Regions from separate parts of the Homo sapiens genome. Here region 1 is linked to region 2. Evidence: promoter capture Hi-C in 16 types of primary human blood cells and fetal thymus (Javierre and others, 2016). All regions are on one chromosome and are shown on one strand. Each heading gives the region's core, a stretch centred on a gene start or on the middle of the fragment in contact. The rest is flanking DNA. Distances are from core to core; before and after follow the strand shown.

Region 1 (5,894 bases), core at 2,677-5,176, 240 kb before region 2:
ATTTCTGCATAGCTGCAAACATAAAGATGAGCGAGGGGGGCGAATGATACAAAATGAACCATGGCGGTTTCCTCTTGGGGCTGGAGATGTCGTCTGTGAGGCACAGACGTGAATTGCCTGGTGTTTAATGATGAGCTGTTTACGGGCTTGGATGGTGGGTATAAGGGTGATCACTTTATTAACTTTGAAATGTCGTGGTGGCAGGTGCCTGTAATCTCAGCTACTCAGGAGGCTGAGGCAGGAGAATCACTTGAACCTGGGAGGCAGAGGTTGCAGTAAGCGGAGATCACGCCACTGCACTCCAGCTTGGGCAACAAGAACAAAACTCCATCTCGAAAAAAAAAATGTATATGTACATTTTCATGCATTTTCAGGTAGTCATATTTCCCAACTTTTATTTTTTATTATTTTTATTTTTACTTTTTTTGAGATAAGTTTCACTCTTGTTGCCCAGGCTGGAGTGCAATGGCACAATCTCGGCTCACCGCAACCTCCGCCTCCCAGATGCAAGCAATTCTCCTGCCTCAGCCTCCTGAGTAGTTGGGATTACAGGCGTGAGCCACCACACCTGGCTAATTTTATATTTTTAGTAGAGATGGGGTTTCTCCATGTTGGTCAGGCTGGTCTCGAACTCCTCACCTCAGGCGATCCGCCCACCTTGGCCTCCCAAAGTGCTGGGGTGACAGGCATGAGCCAACATGCCCGGCCGTTTCCCAACTTTTAAAAGATTGAAAAGAGGCCGGGCACAGTGGCTTATGCCTGTAATCCCAGCACTTTGGGAGGCCAAGGCAGGCAGGTCACTTGAGGTCAGGAGTTTGAGACCAGCCTGGCCAGCGTGGTGAAATCTCGTCTCTACTAAAAATAGAAAAATTAGCTGGGCGTGGTGGTGGGTGTCTGTAATCCCAGCTACTCGGGAGGGTGAGGCAGGAGAATCACTTGAGCCCAGGAGGCAGAGGTTGCAGTAAGTCGAGATTGCCCCACTGCTCTCCAGCCTGGGTGACAGAGCAAGACTCTGTCTCAAAATAAATACATACATAAATAAAATAAAAATAAAAATAAGACATTAAATAGTGCTCATTGTGGAAAGTGAATCTATGTGCCCTTAGTAAAGAAGATGAGAAGAATGGAGGTGGCAGGGAAGTTGACAGAATAGGGCACATTAGACTGACAAAGTCATAACAAGTAACCCAAGTTGGTACCAGAAAGACCACATACTCTGACCATAATGCAGTTGAACAGTGACCAATAAGACAAAAATGGTATCATGGAGTATATGAATCCCAAGTCTAAATTGAATGAGGCTCAAAGAAGGCTTCACATTGAAAATGAGACCACGTGTATGTGAGTTATAATGAACCTGCTATATACCAACATTTATGTGGCAGAGCTGGGAGTGTGCAAAGAGGGATATCCTTCATCTTGTAGCATTTTTTTTTTTAGAAAGGAAAAACTGGAAAATCATGAACATTTACAGTGTTTCAGTCCTACTGTGCGCTCATTGTGCCTAAGTGAAAGGCTGGACCTGAAAGCTTTCTTTTTTTTTTTGAGACAGGGTGTCACTTTGTCACCCAGGGTGGAGTGCAGTGGTGCAAACACAGCTCACTGCTGCCTCAAGCTCCCAGGCTCAAGCGATCCTCCTGCCTCAGCTCCCCAGGTAGCTGGGACTACAGGCATGTGCTACCACTCCTGGTTAATTTTTGCATTTTTTTTTTTTTTTTTGTAGAGATGGGGTTTCTCCATGTTGCCCAGGCTGGTCTCAAACTCCTGGACTCAAGCAATCCCCCACCTTGGACTCCCAAAGTGCTAGGATTACAGGTGTGAGTCACTGCACCAGGCCTTGAAAGCTTTCTTATTTTTATTCCAGTTGTAGCCTCCCTTCAGGATGTGGATTCACATGCAACATGAGTGGTAAGTGTTTAAAGAGGTCTTTCCTACTTTTTTTTTTTTTTGAGACGGAGTCTCGCTCTTTCCCCCAGGCTGGAGTGCAGTGGCTCCATCTCGGCTCACTGCAAGCTCCACCTCCCAGGTTTACACCATTCTCCTACCTCAGCCTCCCAAGTAGCTGGGACTACAGGCACCTGCCACCACGCCTGGCTAATTTTTTTTGTATTTTTAGTAGAGACGGGGTATCACCGTGTTAGCCAGGATGGTCTTGATCTCCTGACCTCGTGATCCGCCCGCCTCGGCCTCCCAAAGTGCTGGGATTACAGGCATGAGCCACCGCGGCCGGCAGGTCTTTCCTACATTTTTTATTTCCGTAAGGAGTCTCTGCAGTGTGAGTTCTTGTATGAACCATGAATTTGAGACCACGCTGAAGGCTTTGTCATATTCCTTTTAGATTCGCAGTTTCTCTCCAGGGTGAGAACAAATGTCTACTCAAGATGAATGAAGATGAAAGGCTTTCTGTAGACTTTACCTTCACAGGGTTTTTTTTCACATTTCTGTAAGATACGAGAGTTCAGGGAAGATGTTCTCACTCATGCTAACCCCTTGAGCTCCCTTCCAATATGTCCTCCTCACATGTTTGGTACAGTCAGAAAATTAATGAAAAATTTTCCACCTTCCTTTCATTCACAGGGCTTCTCATCTTTGTGAGTCTTAAGATGTTTTTTAAGTCCTGACGACTTTGCAAAGTCTTTTCCACATGTCTTACATTTATAGGGTTTCTCTCCAGTGTGGCTCCTTATATGTGTATATTTTGAGGACTCCCGAATGACTTTCCCACATTCTTCACATTCGTAGGGCTTCTTCTGCACAACATGCTTTCTTAAATGTTTATTAAGGTGTAAGGAATATCTAAAGGCTTTCCCACATTTCCCACATTCATACGGTTTCTCTCCAGTGTGAATTTTCATATGTCTCATAAGGAATGACTGATAAAAAAAGGCTCTCCCACATTCGGGGCATTTATGGGTTTTCTCTCCAGTGCAATGACTCTTGTGTGAACCGGAATTTGGAGCGTTGGCAGAGGTTGCCCCAGTTTGACAATCCTTCTTGTTTGTCTCTGCGGTATACAACTGCATCTGCATGGCGTGAATTGAGTTATTTCTGGAGGTGTTCTCGCACTGAGTAAAATCATACATTTTCTCTCGACCATGAGTGTTGTGTGCCCTAAGGGATCCGTCTTCACGGAAAGCTTTTCCAAATGGATTCCGCTGGTGCCTGTTGGCCCCCGTATCAATTTCATCACGTATATGATGCACAGTGTTCTGACTGCCAGTCCATGTGCTTGATTTCAGCTCTGTTTTTCTCCCACACGGAACCCACTGAATGTTCCACCCCAAGACTCCATCGTCTTCGTTGTTTTCATGTGTTTTTTGACTATCGTTTAAGACAGGATTATACTTGAAAATACTTGAGTCACGTGTTAGGATACATTGTCTTATGGAATCTCCCTGTGAAGGCACAAGCCTGCAGGTAGGTTTAGAGTGGTTCCTCATTTCATGATCTTCACAAATGCTAACAGGAGATTCATCTTTCTCAGGGGCAACTGCAGGTGGCTTCACATTATTCACCCCCTGCCTGTGTGGTTCCTCTGTTTTGGGGCATCTCCAGTCTTCTCTTAATGTGGAGTGCTGGGAACTGATGCTCGTGAGACACACTCTGTTGGCTTCAGGAAATGTTCTTTTAGGAAGAATATCCGGCTGAGGGGTTGCGTCTTTGGTTTTACATGGAGTTGCCCAATCTGAAATACAGTGGCACAAAAGTTAAATTCTTTGTTGAAAGTAAAGGTGGGTTAGAGATGATGACATAGGCAATCTCCGTGTGGATTTCTCTCTTTCTTTCTTTCTTTCTTTCCCTCCCTCCCTCGCTCCTTCCATCCTTTCTTTCTTCCTTCCTTCCTTCCTTTCTTTCTTTTCTCTTTCTTTCCCTTCCTTCCTTCCTCCTTCCTTCCTTCCTTCTTTCCTCTCTCTCTCTCTCGTTCTCTCTGTCTTTCTCTCTTTTCTTTAGACAGAGTCTTACTCTGTGGCCCAGGCTGGAGTGCAGTGGCATGATCTTGGCTCATTACAACCTCCGCCTCCCAGGTTCAAGCAATTCTCTGGCCTCAGCTTCCTGAGTAGCTGAGATTACAGGTGCGTGCCACCATGCCTGGCTAATTTTTGTGTTTTCAGTTGAGATGGGGTTTCACCATGTTGGCCAGGCTGGTCTTGAATTCCTGGCCTCATGTGATCCACCTGCCTCAGCCTCCCAAAGTGCTGGGATTACAGGCATGAGCCAACGCGCCAGGCCTCTGTGTGGATTTCTTTCTAAATGTTCACTCAACATGTATGATAAAAATGTGAAGGGGAAGAAAGCAAGAGGAAGGAAGCAGAGAAAGACATCAGAGATTCTGCAGTGTCAGGAATGTGATGACGGTAAGGTCAGGGGTTCAACATGGAGAGTGTCATGTTACTGAGGAACAGTTCTGCAGAGATCAAGGAAACGATCAGGAATTCTAAGTGGAAGAGAATTGGACAGAGAGTCCATGTGAAATTTTTATTTTTTTGAGATGAGGGTGTCACTAGGTTGCCCAGGTGCTGGAGTGCAGTGGCTGGCTATTCATAGGTGTGATCACAGCACACTGCAGCCTTGAGCTCTTGGGATCAAGTGATCCTCTTGCCTCAGTCTCCCGAGTAGCTGGCTCCATGTGCAATTTTAAGGAGAAAAGGAACAGGCCTTTAGCAGGGAAAAATGAAAATATGAGAGGATGGATAAAAGTCAAAAAACATAAGCTTGGACAGGCACAGTGGCTCACGCCTGTAATCCCAGCACTTTGAGAGGCTGAAGTGGGTGGATCACCAGAGGTCAGGCGTTTGAGACCAGCCTGGCCAATGTGGTGAAGCCCCGTCTCTACTAAAAATAGAAAAATTAGCTGGGCATGGTGGCGTGTGCCTGTAATCCCAGCTACTCAGGGGGCTGAGGCAGGAGAATCACTTGAATCCGGCAGGCAGAGATTGCAGTGAGCTGAGACTGAGCCACTGCACTCCAGCCTGGGCAACAGAGTGCCTGTTTTTTTCTTTCTTTTTTTTTCCTTTTAATTAAAAAAAAATTGTTTTTAAAGACAAAAAGAACAGTGTTTTGCCATGTTGGCTGGGCTGGTCTCGACTTCCTGGCCTCAAGTAATCCTCCTCCTGCCTCAGCCTCCCAAAGTGCTAGGATTACAGGTGTGAGCCACTGTGCCTGGCCTATAGGTCTCCTTAGCTGCTCTGTAGATAACAACTTGAAAATTATAAAACATTAAGTTTTCTCTTTGAGATATTCCTTCAGGTCCTGCATTCTGATGAAATGACTATGCTCACTGATCTGAGGAATGCCGTGAGAAACTGACGCACCAAAGAATGTACTTTCCTCATCCCGATGATTTCATCCCCCTTCCTCTGACCAATCAACGTCTCCAATTCTCCAGTCCCTTATCCTCCATGATCCCCTTAAAAATGAGAGCAGTGGCTCATGCCTGTAATGCCAACACTTTGGGAGGCCGAGGTGGGCGGAGCACTTGAGGTCAGGAGTTTGAGACAAGCCTGGCCAACACAGTGAAACCCCGTCTCTACTAAAAATACAAAAATTAGCCAGGTATGGTGGTGCATGTCTATAATCCCAGCTACTCGGGAGGCTGAGGCAGAAGAATTGCTTGAACCCGGGAGGTGGAGGTTGCAGTGAGCCGAGATCGCGCCACTGCACTCCAGCCTGGGCAACAAGAGTGAAACACAGTCTCAAAAACAAAAAAAAAACAAAAACCCCAGAACCCCCCAGGGAGAAGAATTTGAGCGTCTCCTCCCATCTCCTCGGTTGGCACCATGTAATCATGCAACTTTCTCTTTTCTCTGTTGCAAACCCTGCTGTCTCAGTGGCGAGCCTGTTGCTCTGTTACCATGCTGCTGGCTTACAAACCTGTTGGTCCTGTAATGTTCACA
Region 2 (5,855 bases), core at 836-3,335:
GGGTTCGTCTGACGTCTGATTATGATGAGATTCAGGAATCTTACAGAAGCGATGCTGTTCTCGTGACATCCTGTCAGGTGGTGTGAAATTCCAACTTGTCACATTACTGATGATGTCCACTTTCATTGACTAAGATGGTGTTTGCCACGTTTCTCCACTATAACGTAACTCCTTTGAAATTGGTATTTTGTAGGGAGGTATTTTGAGCTCTGTAAATATCAAACTTCTCACTTAGCTTTTTATTTATCTGAGTATGGACTCCTGGTTTCTTCTGTGGTCCTGTATAATTTGTTACTATCATTATTTATTTTGACTCTCAAACTGCCCAGTATGGCCAATGGAGCTTCTTCAAGCAGACTCCTGTGTTCTTTCCACATGTTCTCACAACACTTTGAGCAATTTCTTGCTTTAAGCATAGGACGTTTGTAGGCTCATCTTGTTCTTTTTTTGCTCTAGACATGGAATCAGCCAAATTTCCTAGGCACTCTGGTTCCATTTGGTGGAGAATGGTATATAGAAGTCAAGATTTGGATGCTAGTGGTGCTCATTCATATGGGCCATCATTGTTTCTATGTTCTCTTAGTGGAGAGAGCTAGAGAATATGTGTACAAATGTTCCTATACACACTGAAACTATGTGTTTATTTTTATCTCTCTATGTATAATTGAGATCCATGAGGACATACCAACGCCTCCAGTTATAGTCCAACACCACAGGGCTCATTCGACTTTCCTCCTTTCTGTCTTAGTAACTCCCTTTTCCAACAGTAGGAGACCTGGCCCCCATTCCCCTTACTCACTGTGTGTAGCCAATTTCCCTTTTCCTTTGCCATTTCACCCCTGTGGGGATGTCTTTCCCAGCCTAGTCTGGCTTCAACACCATACACCATGCTATTCCCATGAGTGGACATTTCTCTCTCTGCTTGGGTTATGACAACCCATGCCAGATCCCCTCTATGTGGCCTCCTTCCTAATTGCCTTACAGTGCAAACCTCCACCCCAGACAATGCCTGCATATAAATGCCCCCGCCCCACTCAGCTCATGTTCCAACACTGCACACCAAGCTGCCCATCTGTGGATTTATCCCCACCATCTCCAGCCCCAACACCCTGGGTCATGCTGCCCCTCTATGTGGACTTCTCCTCACCCCACTACCCCACTGGAATGCTGGCTCTCCACGCCAGATGGCCCCCAGCCCCCTCCTCCCCTAACCCTACCTAGTGTGGAGTCGCAAAACCCCTTTGGGCTTTGACACCACCATAACTTCACACCCTCCCTGACACCCCCACCTTGCTTTTTCCCTCTAAATCATTCAGGAAAGACAGAAGGAAAGAGATGAACAGAGGAAGAGCAAATGCCATGCTCTTAGTCACCGTGTACGCCCACTTCCTGAAGTCCATGCTTGCATCCTGCTCACTCTCACACATTCCCGACTCACCCAGGAAAACTCCCTGAGGCCAGGGGTGCTGAGCTCTCCATCTCACTGCCCAGAGGCCAGTGTTGGAGTGACCCTTCACATGCTTGTTGGAACATTGAATAAATGATGCCGTCTGCTCTAATCCTCCATTTTCTTTTCTTTTTTTTCTTTTTTTTTCTTTTTTTCGAGACAGGGTCTCACTATGTCAGCCAGGCTGGAGTACAATGGTGCAATCGTAGTTCACTGCAGCCTGGAGTGCAATGGTACAATCATAGCTCACTGCAGCCTTGAACTCCTGGGCTCAAGCAATCCTCCCATCTCTGCCTTTGGAGCAGCTGGGACTACAGGTGTGTGCCACCATGCACGGCTAATTTTTTTATTTTTTGTAAAGACAGCCTCTCCGTATGTTGCTCAGCTGGTCTCAAACTCCTGGGCTCAAGCAATCCTCCCACCTCAGCCTCCCAAAGCGCTGGGACTACAGACATGAGCACCACATCCAGCCTCTAATCCCCATTTATAAAATGCACTTTCCAATTCCACTCTGGGGATAAAGGCGTCACAGAACCTGACTCTGCATTTCCCCACCCATATCATTCAAGCCAGATGGGGAGGCAGGGACAGCTCTGGTCCCTCCCCAACCCGGGTAGAGATTTCCAGCCCAGCTGTCACAGCTCTAAGACACCGGGACCGAAGGAGAAGCCAAGAGAGGCAGGAAGAGGTGGCAAAGGAGTGCTGGAGAAGATAAGGAGGCTGAGCTCCGACAGGGAGCAGGGAGGAGGGGCCATCTTGAGACTGGTGCCCTGCGAGCTCCACCCCACCCCTCCATGCAGTTCCCCATGGGCCCCGCCTGCATCTTCTTGAGGAAAGGCATTGCTGAGAAACAGCGGGTGAGGTGGGGAGTGAGGGGGAAGGGCGGTGGGCGGGGCAAAGGGAGCAGGGGTGTGGGACAAAGAAGGGGACATGATGGTGCCACAGAACCAGGGGAACAGGTGGATAGAGCAGGAGCTGAGAAGGTATAAGAAATTCCAAGGACCCTGGTGGGGTCATGTAAGCCAGTGAGATAAATGGGTGGGGGTAAAATCAAAAGTCAGGAGCAAAGAGAAGGAGAGAAAAGGAAGAAAAATGAAAAGGGAAAGTGGGATGATGTCATTGTTGAGATTACCATCATTCTTTTCTATGGATGCTCATTGTGATAATGGTGGTGATGATGGTGGTGGTGGTGATGATAATGATGACGTTAATAACAATAGCTGCCACTTATTAAGTCATTGTTCTGTGCCCAGCCCTGTGCAAAGGGATTTGCACACCTGATGTTATTTACACCTCAGAACAACTCATGAGGTCAGTGACTTTCATTCCCATTTTACAGGTGAGGAAAGTGAAGCTCTGAGTCATGAAGTCATTTGCCTTAAGCTTACACAGTTAGTAAGTGGCAGGGTCGGCCAAGTATAGTGGCTCATGCCTGAATCGCAGCATCTTGGGAGGCAGAGGCGGGAGGATCACTTATGTCCAGGAGTTTGAGACCAGCCTGGGAAACACAAGACCCCATCTCTACTAAAAATACAAAAAAATAGCTCAGCATGGTGGCATGCATCTGCAGTCCCAGCTACTCAGGTGGCTGAGGCAGGAGGATCGCTTGAGCCCAGGAAGTGGAGGCTGCAGTGAGCCCTGATTATGCCACTGCACTCCAGCCTGGGCAACAAAGTGAGACTTTGTCTCGTTAAAAAAAAGTAAGTGGCAGGGTCGGGTTTGCTTGATTCCTGTGGGCATGCTTTTTAAAATTTTTTTATTTTTCCATATATACCAACTTGTCCAGATATGTGGGCATACTTTTCATTGTTAGGCTTTAAGATCACCAAAAAAAGAGAATAAAAAAGGCCAGGCAGTGGCTCACGCCTGTGATCCCAGCCCTTTGGGAGGCCAAAGCAGGTGGATCACGAGGTCAGGAGGTCAAGACCAGCCTGGCCAAGATGGTGAAACCCTGTCTCTATTAGAAATACAAAAATTAGCCGGGTGCAGTGGCAGGCGCCTGTAATCCCAGCTACTCGGGAGGCTGAGGCAGGAGAATCGCTTGAACCCGGGAGGCAGAGGTTGCAGTGAGCCGAGTTCGTGCCACTGCACTCCAGCTTGGGTGACAGAGCGAGACTGTGTCTCAAAAAAAAAAAAGAGAGAGAGAATGAAAAAAAGGGTGATAAGGGACCGCAAGGAGGGGATCAGATGAAAGAGAAGCTGAGGGAAAGGCTCCAGGGATAAAGGGAGATGGGAAGGCTAAAGAGACCAGAGGTCAGTAGAATTTCCTTGTTAACATGCCATGTATATGTAAGCCCAACCCTTCAGGTATGTGCAGGAGTAGGTGGGGCAGCAATAACTGGACATTCTCAGAGTGTTTAGGAACTGGTCATGCTGGCACTGACCCTCCTGCCTGAAAGCCATTGAATGCTGTTTCCATGCACAGAGATTCTAACCTTTGGCAGGAAGATTGGAGGCAGGTGAGAAAGGAGTGAATGGGGGCTAGTGTGAAGAATTCTGACTTGGGAGTCAGGAGCCCTGAATTCAAATCCCAATACTGTGTCTGACTTGCCCCATGACCTCCAGGGAGCAGGTGAATGCCTTCCTCCCTTGGGAGGGGATCTGCTGCTTGTGAGCTGTGTGACCTTGTGCAGGTTCCTTAACCTCTCTGTTCCTCAGCTTTCTCATGGGTAAGATGGAAACGAGATGTAGATCTGCATCACAGAGCAGTACTGAGGTTTAAATGAAATGATTGTGGAAACTGCCTGGCACAGAGTCACCACTCTGAATGAGTTAGCTGTGGTTGTGAAGTCTCACTTTTTTCATCTGGAGATTGGACTCCCCAGTGTTTAAGACCCCCTTTGACACAATGTGATGGGTGTTTGTCTCAGAAAGGGAGAAAAAGGGAGATTGGGATTCGTGGGTGGGAGAGAGACATCGAGAGGGGGGTGGGGAGCCAAGAACTGTGGAACAGGAGTCAGGAGATGGGAAAAGGAATGGGAGGGATGGAGGAGGAGAGAGAGAATGGAAAGAGAACCACGAGAGCGTGGGGAGGAGCTTGGGAGAACAAGGAGACCCTTTGGAGAATGGGTGACCCTCTCTCCAAATTCCCTCTCATCTGCATTCCTTTCCAGGAAAGACCACTGGGACAAGATGAGATTGAAGGTAACACCGTCTTCCCCAGTTGCTTCCACGTTGCCATCCACCCACCTGACCTGCCCTCAGTCCCTTTGTGCATTTCCGTATAAATTCCATTACATGGAATTTTTACAATCCCTCTCTCTTCCCACTCAACTGTAATTTTGTAGAACTCTTTCTCGTGGCAGTTGAAGGACTTCCCAAAGTATTTCGAAGGCATATCCATCCTCAAGTATCTCCAAGACTCAGGAGTGAAAACAAATGAGTTTCTCTCTTGGTGACTTTGAGGTTCCCCATAACTTCATCCAGGAATCTGAAGGACGCCAGTGCTCTCATTTAGTGGTCTCAGGAATGATGCCTCTTTTGCTAACACATTTCATACATCACTCCTTTTTGAATTTTTTTTTCTTTTTTGAGACAGAGTTTTGCTCTTGTTGCCAGGCTGGAGTGCAATGGCACGATCTCCTCTCACTGCTACCTCCGCCTCCCAGGTTCAAGCGATTCTTCTGCCTTGGCTGAGGCAGCCTCCCTAGTAGCTGGGATCAAAGGCATGAGCCACCATGCCCAGCTAATTTTTTTGTATTTAGTAGAGATGGGGTTCTGCCATGTTGGTCAGTCTGGCCTCAAACTCCTCACCTCAGGTGATCCACCCACCTCGACCTCCCAAAGTGCTGGGATTACAGCCATGAGCCACCACATCCGGCCTTGGTTTTTTTGTTTTGTTTTGTTTTGTTTCTAATGTACGCTCCTTTAAGGAGTCTCTAGTTGGAGCCTCATTGATAGCTTCAAGAGATGCCACTCTTCCCCACTGACTGCTTCAAGTTCCCCCAAAGTTCTCTCTTAACTTTCAGAGCTGCGGGAAGCATTTCTTGAGTTCGATAAGGACCGAGATGGGTTCATCTCTTGTAAGGATCTGGGGAATCTCATGAGGACGATGGGTTACATGCCCACGGAGATGGAACTGATTGAGCTCGGCCAGCAAATCCGCATGAACCGTGAGTCCAGGGAATGGGAGGGATGGCCGGGGTTAGGGAAGGGATCAGGGCAGAATTGGGAAGGATGTAGAGGTTAAGAGTAGAGTTGGGGGTGGAGAGGAGGATGAGAGGGACTAGAAGTCTGGAAGAAAACAGGTCAGATTCGACTCAGGAAGGCAGCATTTGAAGTGGTTAAAAGCTTTTAGAGATAGGTCTGGGTTCAAATCTCAGTTCTATTATTTACTAATTACAGTCATTTTGAAAAGTGAAGTTATCCGCTACTCTTCAGTTTCCATTTCCTCATCTATAGAGGAAGA

What was found. The method cuts DNA at HindIII sites, captures the fragments that hold promoters and counts their contacts. A CHiCAGO score of 5 or more calls a contact.
Region 1: a contact is called between a fragment that was not itself captured here and the fragment with the promoter of CABP5 in region 2, in 1 of 17 cell types (total CD8 T cells). The highest score is 5.6, in total CD8 T cells.

Annotation. Positions count from the first base shown.
Region 1 is chr19:48,283,552-48,289,445 of GRCh38, reverse strand. It overlaps ZNF114 (zinc finger protein 114), which reads right to left. Exons shown (of 6, transcript NM_153608.4): 6 at 1,838-3,685. The coding sequence ends at 2,568. Among named protein-coding and RNA genes, the nearest start is that of ZNF114-AS1, 15 kb to the right of the region's middle. The HindIII fragment of the contact is 1,576 bases long and covers 3,139-4,714 here.
Region 2 is chr19:48,040,309-48,046,163 of GRCh38, reverse strand. It overlaps CABP5 (calcium binding protein 5), which reads left to right and starts at 2,085. Exons shown (of 6, transcript NM_019855.5): 1 at 2,085-2,304; 2 at 4,561-4,591; 3 at 5,416-5,559. The coding sequence starts at 2,242. The HindIII fragment of the contact is 2,868 bases long and covers 1-2,832 here.